4 separate regions of the Homo sapiens genome follow, and all the other regions are linked to region 1. Evidence: promoter capture Hi-C in human tissues and cell types (Jung and others, 2019). All regions are on one chromosome and are shown on one strand. Each heading gives the region's core, a stretch centred on a gene start or on the middle of the fragment in contact. The rest is flanking DNA. Distances are from core to core; before and after follow the strand shown.

Region 1 (5,906 bases), core at 1-2,500:
AGACAGACCCATGCGCTGCCTGCCCACCGTGCCCCTTTGTCCCCATGTCAGGCGGAGGCGGAAGGCCCACCGTGCCAGAGGCTGGGCACCAGCCTTAACCCTCACTCTGCTAGCACCTCCTCCCTTTCCCCAAGGTAGCACATCTGGCTCACTCCCCACTCCGTCTCTGGAGCCCACCAGGGAAGGCCCTCATCCCCTGCCGCTACTTCTCTGGGGAATGTGGGTTCCATCCAGGATTGGGGGCCTCTCTGCTCACCCACTCTGCACCCAGGATCCTAGTCCCCTGCCCTCTGGCACAGCTGCTTCCTGCAAGAAAGCAAGTCTTTGGTCTCCCTGAGAAGCCATGTCCCTCGTGCTGTCTCTTGCCTGTCCCACCTGTGCCCTGCCCTCCAGCTTGTATTTAAGTCCCTGGGCTGCCCCCTTGGGGTGCCCCCCGCTCCCAGGTTCCCCTCTGGTGTCATGTCAGGCATTTTGCAAGGAAAAGCCACTTGGGGAAAGATGGAAAAGGACAAAAAAAATTAATAAATTTCCATTGGCCCTCGGGTGAGCTGAGGGTTTTTGCAAGGAAGTTGTGGTGGCCAAGTGTGGTCTGTGGTCTAAGCCCAGCCTTGGGGTGGGGGGATGGAACTGGAACCCTGGGCTTGGTGGGGTGCACGGGGGTCCTGGCTTGGTTTCTGTGTCCTAAGGCTGCTGGCAAAAGCCCTTGACCCCGTTTCCTGAGGCCAGGAAAGCTGCTTGTGCTTCTGTGGTCTGTCCCCAAGGGCCCAGCACCGTTCTGTCAGGGAAAGAGGCAGGCGGCCATCAGCTCATACCTGGCGTGCCGCCGCCAACTCCCGCGGGGCACACGGCAGAGGTGTGGGGTCGCGCAGCCGCTGAGAGGGCCCCCACTGCACCTGGCCCAACCTCCTTCAGCGCCCCCCAAAACCCCACTGCTCCCATTCAGCCCCTGTCCTGGCGTCATTGTGTGTCCCAGCCAGGTGCTTCTGCCGTCTCCGACAGTGACAAGTGCCTCGCACTTCAGCCTTTGCCCTGAGCGCCCGCCCGAGGGGGCCGAGTGCGGCTGTGCCGGTGGCTGGAGTGCCGAGGGGTGCGGGGTGCCGGGGGCGGCCGCGTCTACGCTGTCCGGAGGGTGAACGGCCGCGGGCTTGTCGGGGCTGGGGGTGGCGCCCGAGCCGGGCGGGCAGACGAGGGGCCCGCGGAGACCCAGCCCCGCCCGAGGCCGCTCGCGCGGCGGCCCCGCCCCCGGCTCCGCCCCGCCGGCTTCGCGGGCTGGAGAGCGAGGGAGCCGCGGGCGAGGGATCGCAGGATGAGCGATCGGGGCCCGGGCAGCCGGCAGCGGACGCGCCCCCCGAGCCCACCGGCCCGCGCCCCGCGCCCCCCACGGCCCCGCGGTCCCGGTCCCGGCCGCATCACCCACGTCCCCCGAGCCCCACGGGCCATGCCCGGCCGGCCCTAAGCGCGGGCCGGGGGGCGTCCCCTTGCGCCCGGGCCCCGCGCTGGCGCCCCCCGGGCCGCCGCCCGGCGCGGGGGCCATGGCGTTCACCTTCGCCGCGTTCTGCTACATGCTCACCCTGGTGCTGTGCGCCTCCCTCATCTTCTTTGTCATCTGGCACGTAAGGCCGGGCTGGGGCTGGGGCTGGGGGCGGGGTGGGGGGCAGGGGCCACGCGGAGCTGGAGGGACCCAGGGCGGGTGGTCTCAGAGCCCAGGGGAAACTTGCTATCCCCCAGCCGTCGGCTTGTCGGCTTCGCCCCCATTAACACCCCCCGTGGTCGGCTTTCTTCCCGGGGCCCCCCTTCCTCCGCCGCCCCCGCCTGTCTGTGTGTATGTCAGTCGGTCTCTGACCCCCTCCTCTGCCCTCGTCCTCTGCTCCCATGCAGCCCGTGAGGTGGGGGGTGGAATTCTGGCATTTTTGTTGCTTTATCTTCTATGTCCCCCCCCACCACCATCCAGCCGCCTCCATTAGTCCGTCGGGCAGTTTGTCTGTCTGCTGCCCCCCCCCCCCCGCCTTTGTGGGTTTTTCCAGCCAGAGTGATGGAGCTGGTTGCTATGGCAACTGCATCTGTTTACAGGACCCACAGATCTCAGAGTCCATTAACCCTTTGCCTTCCCAGCCCCCTCCCTGACCAAGCAGCAGTTGGCTCTCATCAGCCCCCAGAGACCTAGCCCCCACCACCGGCTCACCTTGGGTTTCCCTACCCCTCCTGTTGGGGGCTTCCCAGCCCCCCAGGTTTCCTCTCCATTTTCCAGCTTCCCTCCTCTTCCTGTCCCCCTTCCCCTTTGTCTCTCACATACCCCTTGGTCTGTCCCTCGCCCTGGCCTAGCCTCACACCTGGTTCTTCAAAATGTCCATTCCTCATCCTGCATCCGACCCATCGCTTCCCCCAGGCTCCCTCCTCCTCCCCTCCCGCTCCTCTCCTCCAGGGCCTCCTCTGCCTGGCTCCCGTCCCCTCACTACAGAACTATCAATCAGCCTCCAGCTGGTTGTTGGGGGCCCCTGGCCCCACTTTACTGCCCTCCGTCCCCACCCCCACCCAAACCCCGTGCCTGTTTCTGTAACAGCCTGCCCAGCTCGGCCCTGGCTGGCTCAGCTCAGCATCCTCTGCTCACACCTCCCGCGCACACCTCCCTGATTGTCATTCCCTTTCAGGGGTCCTCTTATCCCTCCCTCAATCCCATTTCCCATAGCCCTTCCCTCCTTCCTCCCGGTGCCTCACCTGCTTCTTTCCCGGGCTCTCCACTTCCTCTCTCCTTTCTCTTCCTGGGACCTGCCGCCTGCTCCATGGTTCCCCCTGCGCTCCCTTTGCCATCCCCTGCCACCTTGCTCTTTGACATCGGGAATCCATAGACTGAACCCCTACTGTGTGAAGAGTGAGCCCCCAAAGGCACCTCAGCACACACCCCAGCTCCAGCCCTGTCACTCCTTGGCCTGGCTCTGCTCTCTCTCTGGGTCTTGGTTGCTTTGTCTTTCCCCCTCTCCCCCGCACCCCGAGTTACTCTATTTTTCTTTCTGTGGGGTAGGGGCAGGAGGGCTAGGGTTCTAAGGACTGGAGGGAGCTGGGGGCCACAGGCTAGGGAATGCAGAGCTGACCAGCTCCTGGGAGAAGGGCTCCTGGAATTCAAGAAGCCTCTTTTTGGGGCCTTCCCCACCCAGGGCCTTCCCACAGCCCCTGTGGGGTCCCTGTCCTCAGGGGATCCTCAGCAGTTTATCCACCACGCCTGCATTGATGCTTCCCAAAGATCAGGCTCTGGGTGGCTTTGAGGGGGTCAAGGATGAATAAAACCCAGACTTTGCCCTTGTGGAGTGCCCAGGCTGGGAGGAAAGGCCCAAGCTTTGAAGAAATGTCTTTGTTCATTCAACAGATATTGATTGAGCACCTGTGTGAGGTACTCTGTCCACTCAGCCATTTAGCTGGACAATCTTAGCAAGTCATTTGTCCCAAGTCTGGTTCCTCGCCGGCAAAGTGGACCTGTGCACATCAGAGTGCCTAGTGCGGCCTGCTGGGTGGTAGGGGATAGGAGGCGTGGTCCTCAGTCCACAGCTGCTAAGAACTAGACTCTTAACAGGGCGGGACCCCAGATCCCACTCCAGACCCTCAGCCCAGGCCCCAGTGGTTCCTAGGCAACCCTGGCGGTGAGTGACGCGTGTCAGCTGTCACCATGGGGGATTGTTTGTTCCGGGGGGCTGAGTCAGCGCCAGGCAGCCTGGGGGGTGGGAGGGGTGACGCCCGCCGCCTGCTGGTGGTGCCAGCTCTGGGGTACAGACGGCACCCTTCTGCTCCCTGTGGACCCTGTTGCTGTGCGTGCCAAGTGGCGCTGCCCAGAGTCAATGGGGAGCTGGGCGGGGAGGGGGGATGATCCAGATGGCCTCAGCTCCCTCCAGGAAGCCCATGTTCTTTCTCTCTGAGCCGTCTGGGGCCTGGGATGCCTGGGGGTGGTGGGCCTGCTGCCTCATCCTAGGGCTGGAGCCGACAGGAGGGGACCCCAGCAGGCTCCTCTGCCAGCCCATTTCCCCCAAGTCACCTGTCAGCTCCTTCCCATCCCATCATCCCCTCAAACACTTGCTCCCCTGGAGAGTTTCCACCCGTGAGGACACTGCCGTCTGCCAGACACCCCAACACCTGAAGCCACCTTAGATTTCTGCCTTCACTTCTCAGCCATTTGAACCCTCTGGAGTCTGGCTCCTAAAGAGCTGTAGAATCCCATGCACGCCTTCCGTCTCCACTACAACTCTCCTCACTCAGACCACCATCAGCCCTGCCCCTAACCCTCCAAACCGTCCCCTTGCTGGTCTGGCCTGAGTATGACACAGTGGTTAGGAATTTTAACTCTGGAGTCACACTGGGTTAGAATCCACTAACCAGCCGTGTGGCCCTGGACAAGTCACTTAACCTGCCTCAGCTTCCTCATCTGCAAAACAGACATGAAAATAAAACTAGTACCTAAGTCATAAGGTTGTTAAGAATTAAATGAGTGAATCCACATACCGGCCAGGAGAAGCACCACTTAGATCTCAGCTGTGACTGTCAGTGAGCTCGGATTTCCTGCCCCACCAATCCTGAGACATGGACCAATCCTAAGACATGGACCTGACCACCCCACTCTGCTGCTGTGTACTCTTCAATGCCTCCCCCCAAAATTTTTGTGTTAAAGTAAGTCCAAACTCCTGCTCTGGCCTCACAGGGCGCCCATGTCTGGCTCTGCTGAATTCTCCAGCTCCTCTTCCACCACTCTCTCTTTTCTTCCTGCTCGCTGCGCTGTCACGCCAGCCCCATGAAACCCGCAGCCTCCTGAATGTCTCCTGACCTTTCACCCCTCTGCCATTGCACCTTCTACTGCTTGGACTGCATTTCCCCCATTTGCTCACCAACACCTACTCCGAGTCCAGCCTGAACTCCCTCACCCCCCACACAGGGTTAAGCGCCCACTCCAGGTCCTCCCTGTACCCCAAACCCTGATCACCTGGAAGGCAGAGTGATCATCCCTCTGGGCCTGGGTTCCTCCTGGGCAGGGGCTGCATCCCAGGCCTCTGGAGCCCCAGTGCTCAGCACAGGGCCTGAGACTTGGCAGGGCAGACACGAAGCCATGTCTTGGGATGTTTTGGAAGGGGGTGTAGTGGACATGGGCCTGAACTGGGCATCCAGACGCTAGGGTTCCCTTCTGGACTGTTGTAATGACCTTGGACCAGGCCCTGCTCCTCCCTGGACCTCGGTTTCTCCACCTTTGCAACAAGCTCCACCTGGCTGGTCCTCTTCAGTAAACTATCCCACAGAAGGACTTGGGGGAAGGCCATAAGCTGCTGCCCCAACCCTGACGGGCACACGCCCCTCCCCCAGATCATAGCCTTTGATGAGCTGCGGACCGACTTCAAGAACCCCATCGACCAGGGGAACCCTGCGCGGGCAGTAAGTGATACATGTGCTGTGCCGAGGTGTGTCCGTCCGTCTGTCTTTCCATCTGTCGTGGGCTGGGGGTGGGAGACGGGAAGACGGGGGTGGGGTGGGGGGCCTACGGCCATGCCCCCTTCCTCTCTGTCTCCGCCCCCAGCAAACACCTGGCGCGGGCTCAGGGCTGAGTTCCTCTTGGCGGGGCGGTGGTTGCCAGGCTCTGGGCCGTTGCCATGGAGACGCGGGTGAAGGCCCTTCCATGGTGACGGTCGCCATGGGGACGGCGCGGCTGCTTCCCGGCCGTGCCGACAGTGCCGCAGAGATCGCTCTGGCGCCCCCTGGCGGCCACATGTGGAGCGGTGGGAGCTGCTCCAGTACCTGCTTCTCCGCCACCCCATCGCGGCCTTTTCCTTCCCCCAACAGCGCGAGCGTTTAAAAAACATCGAACGCATCTGCTGCCTCCTGAGGAAGGTCAGTGTCAGGGCTGGGGGCAGGAGGCTCCTAGCCCAGCGCTGCCCCCA
Region 2 (3,742 bases), core at 1,243-3,742, 620 kb before region 1:
GTGGGCTCCCTGCTTACAGCCACCGGGGCTCCTTTTCCACTCTCTAAACACAGGACACTCATTCCCACCTCAAGGCCTTTGCACTTGTTTGGTCGGCTTGGAATGTTCTTTTCCTACTTCTCTCCTCCTTCTCACCATTCAAGTCTTAGCTGAGGGAGGCCTTCCCTGACCTCCCAATCTAAAGTCATCACACACCAGCTCCCCTAACTCCCCCACCCCAGGTTATCCTTCTATCCTATGACCTCGTTTTATTTTCAGGACTGAAACTGTTACTCTGACAGCACCTTGTTTATTTATCTGTGTATTTATTTATTTTTAAGAGACACAGTGTCGGGCCGGGTGCGGTGGCTCAAGCCTGTAATCCCAGCACTTTGGGAGGCCAAGACAGGCAGATCACAAGGTCAGGAGATTGAGACCATCCTGGCTAACACGGTGAAACCCTGTCTCTACTAAAAAATACAAAAAATTAGCCAGGCGTGGTGGCAGGCACCTGTAGTCCCAGCTATTCGGGAAGCTGAGGCAGGAGAATGGCATGAACCCGGAAGGTGGAGGTTGCAGTGAGCTGAGATCGCGCCACTGCACTCCAGTCTGGGGACAGAGCAAGACTCTTTCTTAAAAAAAAAAAAAAAAAAAAAAAGACAAGGTATCGCCCTGCCACCCAAGTGCAGTGGTGCAATCATAGCTTGCCGCAGCAGTGACCTCCTGGGCTCAGGCGATCCTCCCACCTCAGCCTCCCTGGGACTATAGGCGCATGCCACCATACCCAGCTAATTTCTTATTTTTTGTAGACATGGGGTCTCACTATGTTGCCTTGGCTAGTCTTGAATTCCTAGGCTCAAGAGATCTTCCTGCCTTGGCCTCCCGAAGTGCTAGGATTATAAGCATGAGCCACTATGCCCGGCCTGTATATTTTTTTACAGCCTGTCTCTGTCAACTGCAATGTCAACTCCAGGGGAGAGTGCTGGTTCAATGGTTTTCTTCCTCAAACAAGAGACGTGACTCTGAGGGACTTGTCCTTCCAGCTACAGGGGTCAGGAATTCAGAAGTGATTAGGGACCCATCCGTATCCCCTGGAACTCATCTGCTAGAGTAAACGTACAAATAGATAATTTCAAGACAAAGGCAGTTTACTTGCAGAGCTGAGTCAGGGCAAGGAGTGAGGAATTCTGCCCTGGGTCCAGAAAGGAGTAACACTGTAGCGGCTACTTCATAGCCCGCCTCCTGTCCCCTCATGCTGGGCCTCCTAGCCTGCAGGGACCTCACCTGTGGATGCAGCGGTCCGGGCAGAGCTCAGCCTCATAGAAGCCATCCCGGCAGTCCTTTCCTACAAGCTCGTGGGGGTGAGGCCGGTGAGGAGGGTCCTTGGTGACCAGGGAGATGCGCACTGTCCCTGGTCCTGTGTAGCCATTGATCTGTCCAAAGTACAGAGGCCCAGACATCCAAACCTGACTCCCAAACACAGAGGGCTGGGGTTCCACAGTCCCTTCCCCGCACACCCTGGCGCAGTGCTGACCTTGATGGTGGGGTGGGTCTTGGTGGTATCTGTGCTCCTCTCGCCTGGGATGCTGCCCGCGGAGCGCCCCTCGCACTTGTAGCGGAAGCGCATGCCCCGCTGCTTGGGCTGCTCAATGATCTCCACATAGGGGCCAGAGGCCTGGGCTGGCTCTGCCAGGGGACACCGCAGCCCCATTAGGCGGCTGCCCCCACTGCCCTACCCCAGGGAGCACCTCCCCGACCGCCGCGGGGGCCACTTACCTGCCGGGAAGATGAGGGGGAACAGTTCTGAAAGGGGAGGGAGATCAGGGTCAGCACACACCCAATGCCCATTCTCACAAGGAGGAATCTGCTCTCCACGGAGAGGAGAAGCCAGGCTCCCTCCCAGGGGAACTGAGTCAGGACCTGCTCCCTAGAACCTGCGGTGAAACTAAGGGGTGGAGGAAAGGAACCAGAAACACCTGCTTCTTGAGGGAAAACGGGGTAAGGAATCCTTCTTCTCCAGAGGGAAGCTGAATCAGGGCCTGTTGTACTTTCTTAAGGAAAATTGAGGGAGGGCACGCCCCACCTCCCTCCAGAGAGGAAACTGAATCAGATGCGTTCTCCCCTAATAGGGAAACGAAGCCAGAGCTGCCCCCATGGACGGTGTGGAGGGAAACTGAGTCAAGGTTCCCTCTGCTCCCCCACCCAGGGAGGATGCTGAGTCAAGGGCCACCCCCTCCACCCAGAGGGGAAACTGAGTCAGACCCCTCCCCGCCTGCCCCGCCCCGCGCCACCATCCGGCAGGCCGACCGCTCCCTGCGCAGCGCCCGTCGGCGCAGGAAGGGGCGGAAAGCGGCGCGGGGGCTCCCGCCACAGCCGCGGCGGCCCCGGCGATGCCACCCCGCGGGGTCAGAGGGCGACCTCACCGTCCATGGCCGGGGTCCCGGGGGCGGGGCCGGGGTCGCAGCTGGGCCCGCGGCGTGCACTACAGACGAGCCATTCGCCAGAGGCGGAAATGCGCCGCGCGGCCCGCCGTCGCGTCACTGCCCGGAATCCGGCCGCGCCTGCGCGCTGCCCCGCCGCCGCCCGGCGCAGGGGCCGGGAGCAAGTGCACGCCGCGCGGAGGACGAAGAGGCTGCACGCACAGCCGCTGCCGGGGGTCGGGGCCAAGTGCGCGCCTCGCCGAGGACGAAGAGGCTGGCGTGCCCGGTGGCTCGGCTAGCTCCCGGGTCCCGGCCCCGCCTGGAGGGTGGGTCCGCCGATTACTCACTTTGTTTTTAGGGGATTTCAGGGCCCCCTCCCGCCGATCGGCGGAGTTTGGTGATGTCACTCTGGGCCGGGTCTGGAGCAAAGCCAGGGCTACTGGGCTGCGGCCGCCCGCCCCGCGCAGGGAAAAGCCCGACCGGGCCTTCTGCTCCGCAGAGGCCGGGTGGTTGAACTCCGCGCGGGTTTCCTAACCGCTAAAGGTGCCTTTCGGTGGTGGCTGTCTCAGAAGCACGTTAAAATGTCCTACCCACCCCAATCTAGATGCGGCTGTGGGGGAATGGGAGCGGCCGGACCTCCCAGCCTGACAGTGCATCAAGAGCTTTGCGGAGCCTACAGCCCGGATGGGACGACTGAGGCCCTCCCGCTGGCGAGCTGGCCGAGGGCTCGTCCCTCTCCAGCTAAAGCGCCAGCTTACGATACAGCCAAACTGCCGGCTCTCATCGGCTGTGGGAGCAGGAGGCCCCCAGGGGTAAATCCCGGAGCCTCGTCTCTGAAGCCTGGCGCTTGTGTCTCAGAAGGTGCGGGACCCACAGGGACACTTGAATCAGCAGGCTCACGACCCCCCACCCCCCTGCCCCCGCCTGTGTTTGCCCTGGACCTCCAGCTAGGGCTGACCACTAATTCTGTCATGTGACCCCACAGTGCAGGTAGCTCCCCCAAGACCAAGCCCAAGGCGCGTCCGTGTGGAGGCTGGGGCTGACGCACCCCCACCCCAGGCCTCATCCCCAAAGGAGGATGCTCCACTGCAGGGGGCGGAGTCTTCTCCAGATGGAGAAAGACTTTTTTATTTTCTCTGAATTCGTCTTAAATTAGGAAATCATGTGGGAATTGGAAAAGATTGGAAATTCTGACTTGTTTCCCAGGCTCTGAAGAAACAGGAAGAGAAAAGTGAAAATAGAGTTAGCACCCCGCCCACTCATTTCAGTTTCTCCAGTGGCTGGCCCTGATTAGAAAAGTGTTTACTTTTGGCAGGGGGCGGGGGAGGCCGACTTCAGGTGAC
Region 3 (5,906 bases), core at 1-2,500, 580 kb after region 1:
CATCCAACTCTCCTGGCCTACAGGAGGAACTTGTTTTCAGTGGTCAGGTAACGTGCCCAGGACTACACTGCTGTGCTGACAGGATCAGAATTCCAATCTTGGGTTTCCCCGAGTTTCCTGCCACCTGGCCCATGGGGATCAGGGCTGGAGGGAGAACGAGGATGGCTGAGGTTTAGGTGGCTTAAGGACCAGGAGACACGGGGAGGTGGTGACTTCCTGTTTCCCAACTGGGCAGACCACTGGTGGTGGCGGGCACAGCTGGAAGGAAACCAGGCTCGCCGAGCCACCGAAGCCCCAGCTTTCTCAACCAGGAAGCAAAGAACCTCCCCCACCTCACGCCGGGAGCCCTTTCTCTGAGAGGAGCTGGTTCCGAGCCGCTCTTCCAGGGAAATGGCCCGGCGGCGACAGAGCGGGAGGGAGGGGCCGCAGGCGCTGCGAGGACGCACAGCTTCCCAATGCGTGCCCCCGGCGGTTGGGAAGCCGCGCCGCGCAGACCAATCCGGCCCGAGGCGGAGGCCGGTTGGCTCCGGAACGCCTGGCCCGCGGGGCGGGCGGGGCAGCTGGGGAGGGAGGGAGAGGCGAGAGGCAGCTGGGGACAGGGCGGGGCGGCGGGGGCGGGGCGCCTGCCCGGAGGCCAAGCCCTCTCGGCCCCACCCCGCAGCAGCCCTGCCAGGGGCGCCGCCCCAGCCCCCCCCACGGCCGAACCCCGTGCCGGTTGGGGACCCTCCACGTGACTCGGTGATGCAGAACGGTTATGACCTTCAGCGTGTGTCTGTGAACGCAAGGGTCCCAGCAACAGTGCGGGTTTGCGCTCGGCCCTGCCCGTGGGTGCAGGGACGTGTGGGTGTGTGGGCATGTGTGGGTGTGTTGGGGAGGGTGCCCAGCGACATGTGACAAAGACGCCCGTCTCCGGGAGATGGTGAAGGGGCCCGCGAGCAGGCGCTTTGTCTGGCTGTCTGCAGAGTGAGGTTCGCGCCGCGGCGGCGGGCGCCCGTGCGGTGCAGGATGCCGGGGCGCCAGGATGGCCGGGGGCGCGCGCGCCTGTGCCAGGGTGAGTGCGCTGCGGCAGCGCCGGGGGACAGCGCGGAGGGCCCGCGCCGGCCCGGGCCTCGGGCGTGACTGGGCGCCACCCGTGGGCGCTGCAGCGGCCGCGTGTCCCCGTGACCTCAGGAGCCGGCCCGGGCCCGGGTGGATCCCCGCGCGCCCCTCCCCGTCCGCCCTCCACGTGCGTGTCCGCGGCGCGCGCGCCCGCCGGCGCGCACCCGCTCGCCTGTCGCCGCCGCCACCGCTAACCGCGCCGGGAAAAGGTGCCGGGAACCGAGCGAGCCGGGGCCGCGGGCCCGAGCGCCATGGGCCCGAGGGTGGGCGGCGGGCGGCCGGTCATCCCCGGGCCTCGTCCCCGCGGGAGAGCGGCCAGGAGTCGGCGGGGGCCGGCCGGGCTCGCAGGGAGGCCGGCCCGCGCCCCCTGAGCGACGGACACCAGGTGAGGGGGCCGCCGGGCGCAGCGCGGGGGCCGGCCAGGGAGGGGCCACGGACTCCACGGGAGGTTCGGGGGGCGCCTTCTCTGGCGGGGGAGGGTATGGCGGGGAGTGGGGAGGCGGCTGGCGATTCCTGGGGACGCCTGGGAAAGGAAGTTCCGGGACCCTCCCTGCTCTCGGTCCTCCTCCGCTTCCTGCCTCATGCCTCACCTTGTCCCCAGCGCCTGGACTCCCCCTTAACTGCTTGGGAAATGTGACCTTTGCTCTGGGGGGCCTGGCCCTGCAGGCCCCAACCTTCCCTCATCTCTGGCGGCCCTCTTGGGCCTCTGACCCAGCCCCTCCCCGGGCCAGGCTCACAGAAGCTGGCTTCTGGGACTGTCCTGGGCCCAAGTGGGCACCTGCGCCAGCCCCACCTGTGCCTGGGCTGTGGCCCCTTCCTACAGGGCGCTCACCATGGCCCCGCCGCTCCTGCTGCTGCTGCTGGCCAGTGGAGCGGCCGCCTGCCCGCTGCCCTGCGTCTGCCAGAACCTGTCCGAGTCGCTCAGCACCCTCTGTGCCCACCGAGGCCTGCTGTTTGTGCCGCCCAACGTGGACCGGCGCACAGTGGAGCTGCGGCTGGCTGACAACTTCATCCAGGCCCTGGGGCCCCCTGACTTCCGCAACATGACGGGACTGGTGGACCTGACACTGTCTCGCAATGCCATCACCCGCATTGGGGCCCGCGCCTTTGGGGACCTCGAGAGCCTGCGTTCCCTCCACCTTGACGGCAACAGGCTGGTGGAGCTGGGCACCGGGAGCCTCCGGGGCCCCGTCAATCTGCAGCACCTCATCCTCAGCGGCAACCAGCTGGGCCGCATCGCGCCGGGAGCCTTCGACGACTTCCTAGAGAGCCTGGAGGACCTGGACCTGTCCTACAACAACCTCCGGCAGGTGCCCTGGGCCGGCATCGGCGCCATGCCTGCCCTGCACACCCTCAACCTGGACCATAACCTTATTGACGCACTGCCCCCAGGCGCCTTCGCCCAGCTCGGTCAGCTCTCCCGCCTGGACCTCACCTCCAACCGCCTGGCCACGCTGGCTCCGGACCCGCTTTTCTCTCGTGGGCGTGATGCAGAGGCCTCTCCCGCCCCCCTGGTGCTGAGCTTTAGCGGGAACCCCCTGCACTGCAACTGTGAGCTGCTGTGGCTGCGGCGGCTGGCGCGGCCGGACGACCTGGAAACGTGCGCCTCCCCGCCCGGCCTGGCCGGCCGCTACTTCTGGGCAGTGCCCGAGGGCGAGTTCTCCTGTGAGCCGCCCCTCATTGCCCGCCACACGCAGCGCCTCTGGGTGCTGGAAGGCCAGCGGGCCACGCTGCGGTGCCGGGCCCTGGGTGACCCCGCGCCTACCATGCACTGGGTCGGTCCTGACGACCGGTTGGTTGGCAACTCCTCCCGAGCCCGGGCTTTCCCCAACGGGACCTTAGAGATTGGGGTGACCGGCGCTGGGGACGCTGGGGGCTACACCTGCATCGCCACCAACCCTGCTGGTGAGGCCACAGCCCGAGTAGAACTGCGGGTGCTGGCCTTGCCCCATGGTGGGAACAGCAGTGCCGAGGGGGGCCGCCCCGGGCCCTCGGACATCGCCGCCTCCGCTCGCACTGCTGCCGAGGGTGAGGGGACGCTGGAGTCTGAGCCAGCCGTGCAGGTGACGGAGGTGACCGCCACCTCAGGGCTGGTGAGCTGGGGTCCCGGGCGGCCAGCCGACCCAGTGTGGATGTTCCAAATCCAGTACAACAGCAGCGAAGATGAGACCCTCATCTACCGGTGAGGATGCGTGCCCCACACCCGGCTGCACTCCCGGCGCCCTTCCTCCGCCCTCTGCTCCCCACAAGGCTTTGCTTCCACCCCTCCTCTCTCTGGGGCTGACACCCCCTCCCCGACCATGGCTGCTGGACTCTTGGAGGAGCAGTGGCCTGGCCTGGCCTGGCTGCCTGAGGGGGCTGGAGCTCAAGGGGCGGCAGAAGGACCCCACCCCGAGATGTCCCAGGTGTCACTGAGCTGTGCAGGCCTCCCCGGCAGCAGGTGGCGGTTGGGTCTGTCTGAAGCACATGGCCCGCGCCCGCGTGTTATTTCTGCCTCTGCTGGTGCCATCCCCCCACCCCATTCCCCTCGCTTGCCTGCGTCCTGTGCCAGTGCACACACCCATCTCCTGGCCACACTCTCCAGCCTGTTCACCTTCCTGAGTGAACCCAAGAGCCCGAGTGGCCCCAGGGGGAGGGGTGTTTGGAGCTGGGAGCACGGGAGTGGGGAGGTGAGGATGGGGCTAGACCCCAGCCCCGGGCTCTGACCACCTGCCCTTGCCTGCAGGATTGTCCCAGCCTCCAGCCACCACTTCCTGCTGAAGCACCTCGTCCCCGGCGCTGACTATGACCTCTGCCTGCTGGCCTTGTCACCGGCCGCTGGGCCCTCTGACCTCACGGCCACCAGGCTGCTGGGCTGTGCCCATTTCTCCACGCTGCCGGCCTCGCCCCTGTGCCACGCCCTGCAGGCCCACGTGCTGGGCGGGACCCTGACCGTGGCCGTGGGGGGTGTGCTGGTGGCTGCCTTACTGGTCTTCACTGTGGCCTTGCTGGTTCGGGGCCGGGGGGCCGGAAATGGCCGCCTCCCCCTCAAGCTCAGCCACGTCCAGTCCCAGACCAATGGAGGCCCCAGCCCCACACCCAAGGCCCACCCGCCGCGGAGCCCCCCGCCCCGGCCGCAGCGCAGCTGCTCTCTGGACCTGGGAGATGCCGGGTGCTACGGTTATGCCAGGCGCCTGGGAGGAGCTTGGGCCCGACGGAGCCACTCTGTGCATGGGGGGCTGCTCGGGGCAGGGTGCCGGGGGGTAGGAGGCAGCGCCGAGCGGCTGGAAGAGAGTGTGGTGTGATGGACGGGCAGCTTCCTGTGTGCTCCAAGGGATGAGCCTCGTGGGGCAGAGGGCCCGGGGCCGCCGCCTGGCCTGGGAGTCCCTCCCTGGTTTTTATTCTCAGTACCTCAGGCTCCCCTGTGTACTTGGAGGGGCAGGGAGCCCTTTCCTCGGTTCTGGCCTCCAGACCAGGGTAAGGGCAGGCCCCTCCAACAGGTGCTCACAGCCACCGAGGCAGGGGCTGCAGCCACCCACTGGGAGTCTTGTTTTTATTTATAATAAAATTGTTGGGGACACCTCAGTGCTAGTCTCTGGTGTTGTCTGGCTAGGTCCCCCGAGACGGGAGGACAGGACACGGGCCGCTGGTGGCACACGGACAAGGGTGGGGCTACCAGGGCCGGTGGGGGCAGTCACAGCAGCCTGGGGCCTCCTGGCTTCCTGTCCACAGGGGCGGCCCAGGGCTGCGGCCAAGGGCTGTGCCTGGTGTCTTCTGACCTGCAAGAGCATGGGCTTGGGCAGGCGGCCTACCCTCGCCTGTAAGTGCAAAGAACGCCCCTTCCTGCCAGGTGGCGACAGGACGCCGTATCCAGTGTAAAGCCTGGGGAGCACGTGTGAGCGCCTTCCCCATGGCACTTCAGGGTCTGCGGGGCGGACACAGGACTGGACTAAGCAACAGGAGGAGGTGGGGGACGGTACAGCCCTCTGGGAGAACGGACCTGGGCTGAGCGTACAGTGAAAAGTCCTCATGGCTCCAGGTGCTGACAGCTGTGTCTGCCACCTCCCAGGGCATCTTGTGGACTGGTAAAACGCCATCCCAAAGGGACTGGAAGGGCAGGGAACCCCACTGCTCTGCCATCAGCCCGTGATCCTCTGGAAGGTTCCTGTCAGAACTGTGGGTCCGAGCAGGACCGCAGCTGCCAGCTCAGATGTGCTCTGGGCCTTCCTGGGAAGGCGGCCTTCGCCCTCCCTCGCTGCAGGGAGGCAGCCGGATGGGCACGAGCCCTGCTTTCTCTGCTAGGACCCCTGGCCAGGCCCGGGCAGCCTCCGACCTGGCCCAGCCCCTGCAGCCTCCTGAACTATCTGCTTCTAGGCACTGGCTGGGGGGCATGGGCAGACGTGGCCCTCAGCCCTGCAGAGGGTCAAGCTCCCCCAGGTGCTGTATGAAAACTCAGAAGGCGGCCCTGGCACCCCAGGCCACGGCAAACACGCTGCACAGACTCCCTGGTGTTTTCTGTGTGAGGGCCAAGGCGCTGCCACCGGGCAGCCGAGGTGAGGCAGGTGCTCTAAGGCATACGTGTGTTCACGTGTGCATGGACCTGGCTCACACGCGTGTGCCTGCCCTCCCAGCCCCAGAACATGCAGCTAGAGGTGGGCTTCGAGAGCCTGGTTTAGATGAATGGGAGCAAGGTCCTCGACAGAGAAGGGTGTGGGGAGCGAACGCCATGGAGGAGTGGGCGGGGGCGCGGGACAGGGTGGGTGGGCACAGACGGCAAAGGGACAGGAGGGCCAGGGCTGCCACGCTGGGCGCTAGCATGAGGCTCAGGA
Region 4 (5,906 bases), core at 2,407-4,906, 510 kb before region 1:
AGCCTTGATATATTGTCTCAATGTTATAAGAAGTTGACCTCCAAATCAACAATCATAGTCAACTGAAAAATATCATTTGTTGATATCTTTCAGAGGCCAAGACATGATTTTCTGACTTTTTTTTTTTTATCACTCCATTTATAGGAAATTTCTTTTTTCTTTTCTTTTTTTTTTTTATTGATCATTCTTGGGTGTTTCTCGCAGAGGGGATTTGGCAGGGTCATAGGACAATAGTGGAGGGAAGGTCAGCAGATAAACAAGTGAACAAAGGTCTCTGGTTTTCCTAGGCAGAGGACCCTGTGGCCTTCCGCAGTGTTTGTGTCCCTGGGTACTTGAGATTAGGGAGTGGTGATGACTCTTAACGAGCATGCTGCCTTCGACCATCTGTTTAACAAAGCACATCTTGCACCGCCCTTAATCCATTTAACCCTGAGTGGACACAGCACATGTTTCAGAGAGCACAGGGTTGGGGGTAAGGTCATAGATCAACAGGATCCCAAGGCAGAAGAATTTTTCTTAGTACAGAACAAAATGAAAAGTCTCCCATGTCTACTTCTTTCTACACAGACACAGAAACCATCCGATTTCTCAATCTTTTCCCCACCTTTCCCCCTTTTCTATTCCACAAAACCGCCATTGTCATCATGGCCCGTTCTCAGTGAGCTGTTGGGTACACCTTCCAGACGGGGTGGTGGCCGGGCAGAGGGGCTCCTCACTTCCCAGAAGGGGTGGCCGGGCAGAGGCGCCCCCACCTCCCGGACGGGGCGGCTGGCCGGGCGGGGGCTGACCCCCCACCTCCCTCCCGGACGGGGCGGCTGCCGGGCGGAGACGCTCCTCACTTCCCAGATCGGGTGGCTGCCGGGCGGAGGGGCTCCTCACTTCTCAGACGGGGCGGCTGCTGGGGGGAGGGGCTCCTCACTTCTCAGACGGGGCGGCCGGGCAGAGACGCTCCTCACCTCCCAGACAGGGTCACGGCCGGGCAGAGGCGCTCCTCACATCCCAGACAGGGCGGCCGGGCAGAGGCGCTCCTCAAGTCCCAGACAGGGCGGCGGCGCTCCCCACATCTCAGACGATGGGCAGCCGGGCAGAGACGCTCCTCACTTCCTAGATGGGATGGCGGCTGGGAAGAGGCGCTCCTCACTTCCCAGACTGGGCAGCCAGGCAGAGGGGCTCCTCACATCCCAGACGATGGGCGGCCAGGCAGAGACGCTCCTCACTTCCCAGATGGCGTGGCAGCCGGGCAGAGGCTGCAATCTCGGCACTTTGGGAGGCCAAGGCAGGCGGCTGGGAGGTGGAGGTTGTAGCGAGCCGAGATCAGGCCACTGCACTCCAGCCTGGGCACCATTGAGCACTGAGTGAACGAGACTCTGTCTGCAATCCCAGCACTTCGGGAGGCCGAGGCTGGCGGATCACTCGCGGTTAGGAGCTGGAGACCAGCCCGGCCAACACAGCAAAACCCTGTCTCCACCAAAAAAATACGAAAACCAGTCAGGCGTGGCAGTGCGCGCCTGCAATCGCAGGCACTCGGCAGGCTGAGGCAGGAGAATCAGGCAGGGAGGTTGCAGTGAGCCGAGATGGCAGCAGTACAGTCCAGCTTCAGCTCGGCATCAGAGGAAGACCGTGGAAAGAGAGGGAGAGGGAGACCGTGGAAAGAGAGGGAGAGGGAGACCGTGGAAAGAGAGGGAGAGGGAGACCGTGGAAAGGGGAGAGGGAGAGCGATTTTCTGACTTTTAAACCTTTTATTCTCCACTTAGTGGCATAAAGGAATCTCTATTATGCAAAACTAATCTGAAAGTGAATAGTTATATAGTGGCTACAGAAAATTTTACCTTTTTTTTTTTTAGACGGATCCTCCAGGTTGGAATGCAGTGGTGTGATCTTGGCTCACTGCAACCTCTGCCTTCCGGTTTCAAGCAATTCTCCCGCCTCAGCCTCCCGAATAGCTGGGATTACAGGTGCATGCCACCACACCTGGCTACTTCTTGTATTTTTAGTAGAGATGGGGTTTCACCATATTGGCCAGGCTGGTCTCGAACTCCTGACCTTGTAATCCCCGGCCTCAGCCTCCCAAAGTGCTGGAATTACAGGTGTGAGCCACTGGGCCCGGTCGAAATATTTTCTATATCCATATTAAATGTGATTCTCTGTTCGTTGCCTGATTCTCACCAAATAGGGCAAGTAATTAAGGTTTCGCAAACACTTTGTTAGAATGGGCAACATTACATCAGAGGAGAATCGTCATGTTATTTGAAGTTGGTTTATCACTCTGCACCTCACTCTTATGTAGAAACTTGACTGACCACAAACACAAATGTTTTAACATTTAAATATCTGTGTATTCATTTTTATACTTCTTGAAAGTACTTCTAGGAGTACAAACATGAACTGCTAACAAGTCCTTTTTCCCCCAGATGGCAATATTATTGTGGGGGTAGAAGCATCTTCTGTCCTAACAAGAGGACCGACTCTTGCTGGCTCCTGGATGAGGCCTGGTCGCCAGAAAGATCAAGCCATAATGAGAAGCTTGAACCTTTCAGTCCCACCCCCCATTCTTCAGGAAGGGGAGAGAGGCTGGAGACTGAGTTAATAATCAACCATGCCTGGGTGATGAAGCCTCCATAAAAATCCTGGAACTACAGAATCTGGAGAGCTATTGGGCTGCTGAACACGTGAAGGTGCCTAGATGGTGGCACATCCCAGAGAGGGCAGGGAAGCTTAGCGGGTCTTCTGACATGCTTTGCCCTGTGCATCTGTATTCTGTTTAATAGTCTTTAGAATAAATGGGTAAACGTAAGTAAAGTTTCCCTGAGTTCTGTGAGCTGGCCTAGAAATTATCAAACTCCAGGATGGGGTTGTGGGAACCCCTATTTATAGCTCATTGGACAGAGGCACAGGTCACAGCCTGCGGCTTGCGACTGGCTTCTGAGGTGTGCACAGTCTTGCAGGACTGAGCCCTTAACCTGTGGGTTCTGACTGTAACTCCAGGTAGATGGTGTCAGAATTGAATTAAATTATAAGACACCCTGTTAGTGTCCACTAGAGAATTGTTTGGTGTGTGGGTTTGATCACCCACACATTTTGGTGATCAGAAGCATTCTATGTTGAGTGTGAATGTAGAAGGAAAAACAGTCCATTGTTTCCTAACTCATACAAAGGCTAAGGTGCTGTATGTGGGCAGTCTTTGCTTTGCCCAGTCCCCATATGGACATATTTGGCTTACCACATTTTAGTTTAATAACTCCAGTCCTCCCCACCAGCATGGTTCAAACTTCATTTGCCATGGAATTTTAACGAATTGTATAAGGTGCAAACCTTGCTGCTGGCTCTTTAGTCCAAAAAAATGACATAAATAACAGATGGGCATCATGATTAGGACATCACTGCTTTCGAAGACTAGTGGTGATTGGCTGGTCAGTGCCGGTGTGTTATTCAGCTCATGCAGACGTCAGACAAGTGTATAGGTGGGTTGCCTCCTCATCTCTCAGTGATCAACAGATATAACATTTTATGAAATTCAATGATTGGGCTGGGCGCAGTGGCTCACACCTGCAATCCCAGCACTTTGGGAGGCTGAGGTGGATGGATCACTTGAGGTCAGGAGTTCAAGACCATCCTGGCCAACATGGTGAAACCCTGTCTCTACTAAAAATACAAAAATTAGCCAGGCGTAGTGGTGGGCGCCTATAATCCCAGCTACTCGGAGGCTGAGGCAGGAGAATCACTTAAACCTGGGAGGCAGAGGTTGCCGTGAGCCGAGATTGTGCCACCGCACTCCAGCCTGGGTGACAGAGTGAGACTCCATCCATCTCAAAAAATAAATAAATAAAAAATAAATTGGATGGATAATTGGAAGGGGGAATGGCTAACAAATATAAAAGTGCAGCCAAAAAAAATGAGGATGATAAGACTGGAAGTGAAATTGTATATGAAGCTGTGGCATGAACTATATCGAAAGTCTGATGAATATCATGATATGGTTTGGATGCTTGTCCCCTCCAATTGTCATGTTGAAATGTGACCACCCCAATGTTGGAGGTGGGGCTTAGTGGGAGGTGTTGGGCTATGGGAGTGGATCCCTCAGGAATGGCTTGGTGCCCTCTTCGAGGTAATGAGTGGTAGTAAATTCACACAAGAACTGGTTATTTAAAAGAGTGTGGCAGCTCCCCCTCCCTCTCTCTTGCTCCCTCTCTTGCCATGTGATACACTGCTCCCTCTTTGCCCTCTGCCATGATTGTAAGCTTCCTGAGGCCTCACCAGAAGCAGGTGCTGGTGCCATGCTTCTCGTACAGACTGTAGAACCGTGACCCAAATAAACGTCTTTTTTGTATAAATTACCTAGTCTCCAGTGTTCCTTTAGAGCAACACAAAATAAACTAATACATATAATAAACAAGGTAAAGTTGCTTCAACATATTTTTTTTAAATTTTTTTCTTTTAATTTACTTTTTTTTCTTTGTTGCCCAGGCTAGTCTCGAACTCCTGAGCTCAAGCAATCCTCCCACCTCAGCCTCCCAAAGTGCTGGGATTACAGGCATGAGCCGCCACGCCCAGGCTGCTTCAACATCTTTTAGTTTAAATTGCGCTGGAAACAGAAGTCGTTCGTGGTTGAAATGGAATGTTTACTTCTATGTTGAACTGAAGACTGTAATTTGTTAACAATCCCCATTGGTTTGGCCAGCATTCAGGCTGAAGCATTGAAGTTAATTGCCACATTGACAGAAAACAGTAATTTCAAGGAGACTGCAGAAACTTTTACTAACGGTAAAGAGTGGTTTGTTTCATCATTTCAGAAGTTGGCATGAATTGATTAATGTGAAACTGTCAAGCACAGATGAGGATGTTGCTGTGAAATCTATCCCCAGATGTCAAGGATTTTTTTTTTTTGTCAGTGTCTCGTTCTGTTGCCCAAACTGTACTGCAGTGGCACAATCATGGCTCACTGCAGCCTCAAACTCCTGAGCTCAAGCAATCCTCCTGCCTCAGCCTCCCAAGTAGCTTAGATGCTAGGCATGTGCCACCACACCCAGCTAGGTTTTTACATTTTTTTAGAGGCCAGGGGCGGTGGCTCATGCCTGTAATCCCAACACTTTGGGAGGCCATGGCTGGCGGATCACCTAAGGTCAGGAGTTTGAGACCAGGCTGGCCAACATGGTGAAACCCCGTCTCTACTAAAAATACAAAAATTAGGCCAGGCATGGTGGCACACGACTGTAATCCCAACACTTTGGGAGACCAAGGAGGGCAGGTCACCAGGTCAGGAGTTCGAGACCAGCCTGGCCAGCATAGTGAAACCCCATCTCTACTAAAAATACAAAAAAAAAATTTTTTTTCTAGAAATGGGGTCTCACTATATTGCCCAGGCTGGTCTTGAACTCCTGAGCTCAGGCAATCCTCCTGCCTTAGCCTCCCAAAATGTTAAGGACTATAGGCATGAGCTACCACATCCAGCTGATTTTGTTTGTTTAACTAACCACTATACTAACGAGGATCAAGGATAATTATTACGGCAGGCAGTGGTTACAAAAAGGATAAAGATATCCTAGAAGAAATGCCGCTGGCAAAAAGTTTAAAAGAACTTGGAGATATTTCACAACGTTGGAAGTACAAAGGATAAGATGTTGAAAGTTGATCCAAACTTAGGAAGGAGTATGACAATTTGCCAAGGCATGGAAAACGTGTTTTTTTTTTTTCTTTTGAGACGGAGTCTCGCTCTTGTCGCCCAGGCTGGAGTGCAATAGCGCAATCTCGGGTCACTGCAACCTCCACCTTCCAGGTTCAAGTGATTCTCCTGCCTCAGCCTCCTGAGTAGCTGGGATTATAGGCACCCACCACAACACCCAGCTAATTTTTGTATCTTTAGTAGAGACGGGGTTTCACCATGTTGGGCAGGCTGGTCTTAAACTCCT

The links. Contacts are between HindIII fragments. The study calls those that stand out against the background at their distance.
Region 2: a contact is called between the fragment with the promoter of RELA here and the fragment with the promoter of CNIH2 in region 1, in 1 of the 25 tissues and cell types used here (bladder).
Region 3: the fragment with the promoter of LRFN4 here is called in contact with the fragment with the promoter of CNIH2 in region 1 in 1 of the 25 tissues and cell types used here (pancreas).
Region 4: a contact is called between a fragment that was not itself captured here and the fragment with the promoter of CNIH2 in region 1, in 1 of the 25 tissues and cell types used here (pancreas).

The regions. Positions count from the first base shown.
Region 1 is chr11:66,276,925-66,282,830 of GRCh38, forward strand. It overlaps CNIH2 (cornichon family AMPA receptor auxiliary protein 2), which reads left to right and starts at 1,251. Exons shown (of 6, transcript NM_182553.3): 1 at 1,251-1,613; 2 at 5,335-5,403; 3 at 5,809-5,856. The coding sequence starts at 1,533. It overlaps RAB1B (RAB1B, member RAS oncogene family), which reads left to right. Exons shown (of 6, transcript NM_030981.3): 6 at 1-568. It overlaps LOC107984340 (a long non-coding RNA gene), which reads right to left and starts at 1,601. Exons shown (of 2, transcript XR_001748274.1): 1 at 1,571-1,601. RefSeq lists a silencer at 1,027-1,356 and an enhancer at 5,522-5,906. The HindIII fragment of the contact is 9,186 bases long and covers 1-5,320 here.
Region 2 is chr11:65,660,424-65,664,165 of GRCh38, forward strand. RELA (RELA proto-oncogene, NF-kB subunit) reads right to left here and starts at 2,493. Exons shown (of 11, transcript NM_021975.4): 1 at 2,403-2,493; 2 at 1,756-1,782; 3 at 1,514-1,665; 4 at 1,264-1,412. The coding sequence starts at 2,409. It overlaps RELA-DT (RELA divergent transcript), which reads left to right and starts at 2,583. Exons shown (of 4, transcript NR_183625.1): 1 at 2,583-2,725. RefSeq lists silencers at 2,180-2,239, 2,300-2,709 and an enhancer at 2,800-2,999. The HindIII fragment of the contact is 29,460 bases long and covers 1-3,742 here.
Region 3 is chr11:66,855,814-66,861,719 of GRCh38, forward strand. LRFN4 (leucine rich repeat and fibronectin type III domain containing 4) reads left to right here and starts at 1,251. Exons shown (of 2, transcript NM_024036.5): 1 at 1,251-3,280; 2 at 3,824-4,662. The coding sequence starts at 1,932. The coding sequence ends at 4,382. All of the region lies in intron 12 of PC (pyruvate carboxylase), which reads right to left. RefSeq lists silencers at 337-866, 1,027-1,136. The HindIII fragment of the contact is 20,544 bases long and covers 1-5,906 here.
Region 4 is chr11:65,762,036-65,767,941 of GRCh38, forward strand. No RefSeq gene overlaps it. Among named protein-coding and RNA genes, the nearest start is that of AP5B1, 16 kb to the right of the region's middle. The HindIII fragment of the contact is 5,509 bases long and covers 903-5,906 here.